Linked DNA regions of Homo sapiens: region 1 is linked to region 2. Evidence: promoter capture Hi-C in 16 types of primary human blood cells and fetal thymus (Javierre and others, 2016). All regions are on one chromosome and are shown on one strand. Each heading gives the region's core, a stretch centred on a gene start or on the middle of the fragment in contact. The rest is flanking DNA. Distances are from core to core; before and after follow the strand shown.

Evidence for each region. Contacts are between HindIII fragments. The CHiCAGO score rates a contact against its expected background, and 5 or more counts as called.
Region 1: a contact is called between a fragment that was not itself captured here and the fragment with the promoter of BACE2 in region 2, in 1 of 17 cell types (total B cells). The highest score is 5.3, in total B cells.

Annotation. Positions count from the first base shown.
Region 1 is chr21:41,368,213-41,372,589 of GRCh38, forward strand. The region is part of intron 1 of MX2 (MX dynamin like GTPase 2); the gene reads left to right. Among named protein-coding and RNA genes, the nearest start is that of MX2, 8.4 kb to the left of the region's middle. RefSeq lists enhancers at 575-1,263, 973-1,032, 1,264-1,950, 1,825-1,969, 1,903-2,112 and 1 more, a silencer at 663-712 and a cis regulatory region at 1,897. The HindIII fragment of the contact is 5,010 bases long and covers 1-4,377 here.
Region 2 is chr21:41,165,105-41,169,552 of GRCh38, forward strand. It overlaps BACE2 (beta-secretase 2), which reads left to right and starts at 3,056. Exons shown (of 9, transcript NM_012105.5): 1 at 3,056-3,471. The coding sequence starts at 3,160. MIR3197 (microRNA 3197) reads left to right here and starts at 2,453; the gene lies at 2,453-2,525. RefSeq lists a silencer at 2,615-3,064. The HindIII fragment of the contact is 3,467 bases long and covers 1,655-4,448 here.

The sequences.
Region 1 (4,377 bases), core at 627-3,126, 200 kb after region 2:
CAAGTCCCACCTGTCCATGTGTCACCCGGCTCTTCCGTGTCGTCTCCGTGAGCCTGCAGGGGCACCCAGCCAGCCGACAGGCTCCCGAGACAGTCCACTCACACAGACACACTGTAGCCATTTCTGAAGATTGTGCAGGGGAGACAGATGGTTCACCAGGCACACACCAGACAACCCGAAACCTACATTCCTTACTCAACAGGCCCGTGTCAGAAAATCCTCCCTAAACTGCAATGGGGAGGGGGACTGAGGGAATTCTCATCCCCTACATGTCACCCCACGGCTCACTCCTGCCTCCGACCTTCACACATGTTCACCCCTGCAACTTTTCACCCCTTTATTTTGCAGAGCAATCTGTGCCCAGCTCCTGTCCTCTCAAACTTAATCAGCTCATGATACGCTTAGCAAGACCTGCCCTTCATGAAAATGAGGGTGAGGGTGAGGGTGGCGACAGTTTTAAATATGTTTTAAAAGGAACATGAAATGAAGAATATTGGGCTTCACAAAAGGAACCCTCCTTTCCCTTGTTCTTTCTTCCCATGGAGAGGAAGAAGTTGAGGCTGAGTTATCACCTCCCATCAGCACTCGGTTTTGTTCCTGGACCCCTGACTTCGTCACCAAGGGCAGCTGGCTCCAGCTCTCAGCCTTTGAAGGATATTGTGGCTAGGGGTTCAGAGTCCCAGGCTCCCTCCCAGACAGATGGGTGGAGTGAGGCCACCTGAGATCTCACTTGCTAGGGTGGGTGCCACCAGGCCCACCGAGCTGCTGGGTCCTGGCCAAGCCCTCCTGTACCCCCTGAGAAAGTCTCCGTAGGGCTAGGAGCTGTTTGTGCCAACTTTAGATGGACTCATCTCTCAGTGATCCCATAAAATTGCTGCCTAGCCCTTCTGGTTTCAAGGATTTCACATCAGAAAACGTTTTACGAACCCAGGGCTAGTTCTGAAAACAGGAAGTGCTTTCAGCCCCCATGGGAGGAGGGGGGTGCAGGAGGCCTGTGGACCTGGACCTCTGGGAGCCAGGCTGGAGAACAGGAGCTGAAGGCTGAGCGGCGGCGGGGCCATTCACACAACCATGGTCTTTCCTCCCAGTGAGGAGGGACCCCAGGTGGGGCTGCTGAGCTCAGGAGCCGCTGGCTCTGCTGGAAGATCCGCCCCTCTGAGGCTGCGCGGGGAGGATGCAAGACTGGGCAAGAGCTCATTAGGAAACGCTGAGACAGAGGGTCCTAGTGAAGATTCCACTGCAGAGAGGGCAGTCCAGGTCATCACAGGGTGACATCTGGGGATGAGGCTGGCCGGGGCACGGGGCAGGTTTTTGAGCCCGGCAGTGTAAGCAGTCTCTGTCCCAAGGGAGGAAAGCCGCTGAGAGCTGCTGGGCCAGCAGGTGGGAGTGCTGGGCTGGCCTCAGGGTTTCTGGAAGGGGTATTCCCGAGAAGTGAGGTGCTGCTCTGGGACTCTGGTGCCCCTGGGGCCTTCCTGCAGGGCGCTCTCAGCAGCCACCTTCGGTAGAAGCCAGGGCCACCCTGCATGGGGGATGATGCCGCATCCAGCACAGAGCCTTGCGATCAGTCACTCTCCTCCCTCCACAATAGCGGGGACCTCCCTGCCCGCCGCACCCCTGCCCCCCGCCCCCGCCCCCGCTCCCGCCCCGCCGTGGCTGTGCAGCAAGCAGGGGACAGTCCCATCAGCAAAGTCGGGGAACTTCCAGGAAGCCCGCGTCCCCCTCAGCCTGCCTTTAGCCAGAAAAGATTCCAAGCTCTGCTCTCTACTTTGGAAAGCCAGTGTTTGCATGTGGAGATTGTTTTGCTAGACTCGACGAGGGTAGCAAAGCAACAGGAAGTGTTCCCCAGAGCTCCGCCCACGACTTGCGTGGCCCAAAGCTGGATGGTCGTCCGTCCCACCATGGCGGGTGGGTAAAGGTTCTTTTCCTGGGCTGTGTCATTCCACCCAGAGCAAGGGATAAGCCTGTGATAGCCGTAAATCCGGAACCACTACCAAGGTGAAAGACCTTCAAGTTAATTGTTGGAACCTGCGGCTCTAACACTTCCAGCAAAGCTACTTCTGTGAAAGCTGTGACGAGCAGAGGAAATGGGACAGGAGAGGAGCTGAATCCTGAGATTGTATCGCTAGGAGCCCCCAAAGTACGATGACGGTCCTCGGGCCAGCATGGGGGTGCATTGGCACCATGTAAGGAAAGGGGCCCTCCCGTGGCACCGTTGGAGTGGGGCGGTGTGGGGTTGTTCGGAGAGAAAAGTTTCCCATGAGCTCTGTTTCAGCAAACGGCGATGACCACTTCCGTGGCAACTAAACAGTCTTGCCTTCCTGCACGTGGACATTTTTCTTCATGCATATTTCTCTTGCAAATGGTTCTATTGTTTGTATAACAGTATTTCATGAGCGGAGAAGAGTTGGAAGCAAAAATCTGTTCATGAGAAATGTAAGTATGTGGTAACATTGCCTTCAGTGAAATTGAGAGCAGATCTAAAGGGATGTGAAAAGCATCAGGGTGCTCATATAGGAGGCAGGATCATTTCCCCCAGACCGCGGCCATGCGGGTTGTGTTTTATGGTAGGAGTGATTATGGCAGCCTATGTGTGTCTGGGCATAAGAATACTTATTCTATGGATCTTAAGGTAATTATGTGTTGGAATTATGTGTTGGAAAATGTATGGCGTGGAATTCAGTAGGGGAATGCTCACGATTTGTGTGGTTCCTGGAGTTGGAAATGGGTGGCAGATCCAGCAAGAGGCAAGATTTCCAAATGGACTGCTGAGTCATTCTTAGGGTGGGCTAGGAGAAAATGTGTTTTGGTCTGAAGGAGGGAGGAAGAAGACAAAAACAAGTAAATTAGAAAACGTGGTTGCAGGATTGAAATCTGATCCTGAAAAAGAGAGAATAGCCATGAGTATAATGTTTAAAAATACACACAAAGAAATCCACTGTGGTGGGAGTCACAAGAAGTTCAATCATTATCTGGTCTCGTCATCTCGAGTGAAGCTGTCCACTCCCAAAGCCGACTGCTTGGTCCATAGCTCTTAGTTTTTGCATCTGGAGGCTTTTGTGGTTAGTGTTGGTTTGAGGTCATTTGAGCTGATCCATTGGTCTGGGTTTGTTGCCTGTTTCTACTGACTCTTGAGTACTTGGGTCAACACCTTGGATCTTGACTGCCCTGGCATTTGCTAGGAGGACCTGAAATGGCTCCTTCCAAAGAGGTCTGAAAAGTTTTTGCCTTGAGGTCTCTTCCAGCGGACCCACACCAGGCTGGAGGTCAGAAAAGTCTGGCCGGCATTTCCTCTGGCTGGCATTTCCTTTGGGCACGAGACTTGGTGTGTGAGGCTAATCCTTGACAATGCTTAACTGCGTACATGAAATGGAGCAGAGCCAGGCCTTGCTGGAGTTACTCCTGGTCATGTACAGCATCTGGTTATGATCTCATGGGGTGCTGGACTAAGTGAGCACTCAGAGACGGTCACGCCAATAGCCTATTATATCCTCGACCTAGGAGTTAAGGAGTAATCTTCTGCTTACTCCTTAAGCAGCTCCTTAAGGAGCTGAGGCAGATAAATTGGGTGTGGCAAGCGGGGTGTCTGCCAGGCCCAGGAGCCCCGGCTGTCACCAGTGCATGATGTGACTTTGGGTGAGCCACATCTTCTGCTTACAGATAGAGGCCAAGACCGCACGGCCAATAAAGCTGGTGGCAAAACTCAAAGCCCAGAGAGATGGAGGGTTTTTTATAGTTAGGGAATTTCAGCTTCAGTGTGTGATTGATTTTGTATTTTGCGAACACCGAGGGTGATTCAGACAGTGAAGTGTCTGTGTTAGAAGAAGGACCCTCCAGGACAGTAAGTCTATAATCTTTTGATAGGAAGATAGGTATTGTCCATGCTGAGAATAGAAAGTCTAGCAAGAGGTAGACTTGCTATCATGAACCCATGGCTCTGAATCCTGTCTCACCTTTACAGTCTTGCCTGGGTTATATTGGTTGCAGATGAGATAGGACTCTACCACTTCCTGGGCCAATTCCAGAAAATTTCCTGACCAATATGCATTGCATGTAAAACTTAATTTACCTTTTCCATGATGCAAACAATTATGGAGTAATTTAGCTAGGAAGGCTCATGGCACTCAAGGACAGGTGTTCTGAGATGACCAGATTCCATCTTTATTAAGAAACTATTTTTGAGATTGCCAATATTACTTGTCAGAAGTTTGCATCGATTATTATGAGTCAATTATAAATGGATCCAATTTTCTTTCTGAAAGTTTGGTGGATAGATGTCAGTTACTATTTTAGAACTCTTAATATAGTATTTAAAGCTATTTTTTTTTAACATGAAGTCAGTAAGGACATCGCCCTTGACTTCTGGCATGGCTTCTCAAC
Region 2 (4,448 bases), core at 1,806-4,305:
CCTCTATGGGTAAGGTAAGTATGTGGGAGGTAAGATCCCCCATGATCAAAGCTGTTTGCGTCCCTCGGCCCAGCCCGATCAAACTTCTGGATGCCATCAAAGAGATCTGCCTAACCTAAAGATCATTGTTCTTTAAAAGAAAAACAAGTTCATTAATCATGTGAGGAGGCTTGGGGCCAGGATATAAAGTTAATGACAAGGGACTCCCTTCTATTAAAAGGACTATGTGCAAACAGGCATGCCTGGAGGAAGCCAAGGACCACGATAAAGGAAAACAAACACCTTATGATTCATCTAACATAGGCCCGGTTACAATCGCAGGTGTAAAAGGAACTGGGAGCTGGCAGTGAGAGACAACAAACATCAGTGGAACATGGGATGGTGACTCTTTCTGGCTGAGCGCCACACGTTCCTACCAGGAATCTTCTATTAGTCATTTGGGCTGGAGAGTGAGATCCTTCCTCGCTCTCCACCGTCCAGGGTCATGTTTAATGGTGATGTTTGTTCTTTCCAAGGAGAGAAGGCCCATCTAATTGCAGGGCTTTTGTTTTCCTGAATGGACTCAGGAAGGCCATGGCTGAAAACGAGGGTGCTGAGAGGCTGTAAGGAGAAGGGAAGGAGTTGGAGGCTCTGGTGGAGTGAGGAAGAGCAGGGCAGTATCCCATGTCCTCTGATGTTAGGGGTGAGGTCAGGAGGGTGGGTCTCACCTTCTCCTTTCTCTGCCCTGCATCGGTCACCATGGTTTAAAAATCAATGCTATTCCATGAGAGGGCTGCCACTTATCATTTCAGTTCCAACACCTGGAAAGTAAAATTATTGTCTCCCAAATCCACCCAGCACCATAGGCTTGAATAGGGATCATATGCTCTAAGACCATTCATGAAAACAGAGACAACCAAGGAGACAGTCACCCAATGCTGTCCCTTCAGCTTGCATTATTTTCTGACAAGACAGCTCTGCCATCCATGGAAGCCTGTGTGCTCCTCCATCCCTGGATCTTTATGCATCCTTTTCCCCACAAACCCAAACCATCCCTCTTAAAATGAAAAGCTTAGGAATACTCACCCTAGACTGAGTCACGCGTTTCTTGTACAAACTTTAATTAGACTTGATTTTTTAAAAATTTCCCTTGTGGCTTTTAATTATTAGACAGAGCAAATGTCTCTAGTATTAAACTTATATGTCACATAGCCTCTTTATCAATGGCCCTAATACATTTCATGTGCTTTTCAGAAAGATTATATTCTTCCCAGAGCTGTCTGAATGTCTTTTTGAACCCCTCAAGACTGGACACCAAGGAGTATAAATAATCATTTTAAAAAAAATCACATTCCCTCCACAACCTTGAATCTGAAACGTGAATATATGAATAGAAGGGCTCTGGAATAACTATGCAGATTTATGGAGAATATCAACTTAAGTTATATCACGGGATCCAGCTATGCCTTTCTTCATGGAGTTGGGGATTTGTTAAAGTTGAGATATAGTTTGGGGGAAGTGTGATTTATGGTTAAAGTCATCTGAAAATCAATACATTTGAAGATCTCTGACATAAAGGTCCCTTGCAGAGCTAGACGTGATTCTAAAATTGGGAACACAGGAATAAAAATCAAATCTTGAGTAGAAGTAGCTGAAAATTGCAGTGATTCGGGGAAGCTTGGCTTCTAACTCCCCACTGTTTGAAGATGGGCTTGTTTGTTTTTTAAAACAGCCAACATAATTCAGCTGGAGGAGGTACAAAGAATTTTCTATTCCTTGTTTCTGTAGAAATCGATGGACTTTAGCTTGTCTAATTGTCCCCCCTGCCTTTAGTATCTAAAATAAAATAACCCTCGTTGCTTGCATTACTCAACGCATTTCTGCGTCTTGGCGTCTATGGCTAAACGAGTATTAATTAGACAGTCCGCAGAGAGCTGGCTGGGGATAGAAGGGGAGGTGGGGGAGAAGGGCAGGGATCACAGCAGGGTGGACTCGTGGCCCTGATTTGGGATCCTGACAGCAACTTACTAGGTGGCCTGAGGGCTGGGTGCCAGGGGAGGCAGCGGGTTCCAGTAGCATCTGACCTGCATTAGGGACAGGGGCGCGGCGGAGGGGGCGAAGGGGGCGGGGGTGGGGGGAAGGTGGCTGGGGTGAAGCCCAGCTTCGCAGCTAGCTGTGGGCAACAGAGGGAGTAAGGGGGGGCAATGAGGCTGGGGCCAGGCGCCAGCAGCAGCCACGCCCCCCACCTCCCCCGATTTTTAGGGAAAATTCTCCAAAGCTCTCGCATCCTCCTCTGCCTCCTTCCACCCTCCACCCTCCCAGCCTCCACTGAGACCTCTTTAAAACCACCCAGGGGCCGCCGGGGGATGAGGCCGGGGAACGGGCTGGACTGAGGGCGGGGGCTCGGGGGCAGCGGACGGGAAACGCCTCGAAAGCAGCCAGACCCGGCGACTGAAATGAGGCGGAGGAGCTTGGCGAGGGGAGGCGCAGGCTCGGAAAGGCGCGCGAGGCTCCAGGCTCCTTCCCGATCCACCGCTCTCCTCGCTGACCTCCGAGTCACCCCCGGAAGCTCCCGCCACTGCCGGGCGAATAGACCCCCGCGGACCCCCAAGCGCGCGGGGCCGGGGCCCTAGTTCAGGCCCTCGCTGCCCCTTTAAGGGTTCTCGAAACTTTCCCCCCGGTATCAGATGAGCCTCGTCACATCCGTTGGCCGTGGCCGCTGGGGCGCTTTCCGAGGAAATTCGGGACTCGAGTTTCCCGGGGAAGAGGCGCGGCCTGAGCCCGGCGAGGGTGGGGAGGGCAGGCGCAGGTGGACCCCGGCGCCCCCCGAGCCCCGCTGTGACCTTGGCCGCGGGGGAGGGGCTGGGCCGCTGCGGGGCAGTCGCGGCCGCCAGAGGGGGCAGCGGAGAAGAACTTGCCCAACTTGGCGGCGCGGGCTGGGGCGGCTCTGCGCCTCCGCGCCCGCCTCCCCGGCCTCCGCCTTCTCCCCTCCCGCGAGCCTCCTCCCCTCCCGCGAGCCTCCTCCCCTGGGCCCTCCTCCCGTCCTCCCCGCCGCCGCCGGTCCCGGTGCGCGCCCATCCCTGCCCGCAGCCCCGCGCGCCGGCCGAGTCGCTGAGCCGCGGCTGCCGGACGGGACGGGACCGGCTAGGCTGGGCGCGCCCCCCGGGCCCCGCCGTGGGCATGGGCGCACTGGCCCGGGCGCTGCTGCTGCCTCTGCTGGCCCAGTGGCTCCTGCGCGCCGCCCCGGAGCTGGCCCCCGCGCCCTTCACGCTGCCCCTCCGGGTGGCCGCGGCCACGAACCGCGTAGTTGCGCCCACCCCGGGACCCGGGACCCCTGCCGAGCGCCACGCCGACGGCTTGGCGCTCGCCCTGGAGCCTGCCCTGGCGTCCCCCGCGGGCGCCGCCAACTTCTTGGCCATGGTAGACAACCTGCAGGGGGACTCTGGCCGCGGCTACTACCTGGAGATGCTGATCGGGACCCCCCCGCAGAAGGTAGGGACCCCCGGCTGCTGCCGCGGGCTTTTCGGGCTCGTTGGAGGGAGGGGGCTGTCCAGAGACGCCTCCACGCGGCTTAGCGTCGCCCCCAAAGCAGCAGCTGTCCCCGCACAGAAGAGCGGGGAACGCAGAGGGGCTCGGGTGGGCCGGGGAGCGGGGGCGCTCGCTCTTGAGTCGCGGAGGACGGCAGCCCCCGCCCGGGGCGCACTGAGGGGTGTGCGCGAGTGTTTCAGAACTTGTGAGCTCCCCCTCCGCGGGGCTGGGCGGGAGAGGAGACCTGGAACTTGCCGCCTCCAATAACGTGATTTCCTTCTTGCGGGCGACACCTACTTCCAGCGGGAGACGGAGCGGTGGGCCTTGGGCGACGGGCTATTATGGGGAAAATCACCTCGTGTTCATACCCTCCCTCCCCCCCGCCCCCCCCCCACCCCACCACCATGCTGTCTCATTGCTAAAGAGGCTCGTGGCCGGCTTCCAAAGGCGCAGTACCCTTTAAAAAGGATTTATGCATGAGCTCAGCTAAAAGCAACCCGGTTAAGAAGTGGCTCGCTTGCTGCTCTGAGGAAGGAGCAGCGTCTCCCCTGCGCCCGCTTTCCTTTCTCGGAGTTGGTTTGTCAGCTGTGTCCTCGCTCATCCGGCGGCCCTGCCCCTCTGCACGGAGCGATGCATCTACACGCGGGTGTGCAGAGTGTGAAAAGCATTCCAGCTACCGGGAAAAAAACAGGGGCTGAGTGAGGTGTCCGGGGACCAAGTGGTATCCCGATTACAACACAAAAATAAAATCAAACAGCTTTCCTTTTCTCTTACTCTGATGTTCATTTACTAACACTTTTTGTAGCAAGAAACAAATGTTCCCAAGCACAGTGATCTGAAAAAAAAAAAAAAAAAATCCCAATTGATCTGCCCCCTCCTACTTTCAAACTGTCTAATCCAAGTGGGATTTGAAGTCCTTTGCTCAATTGAATGCACTATTT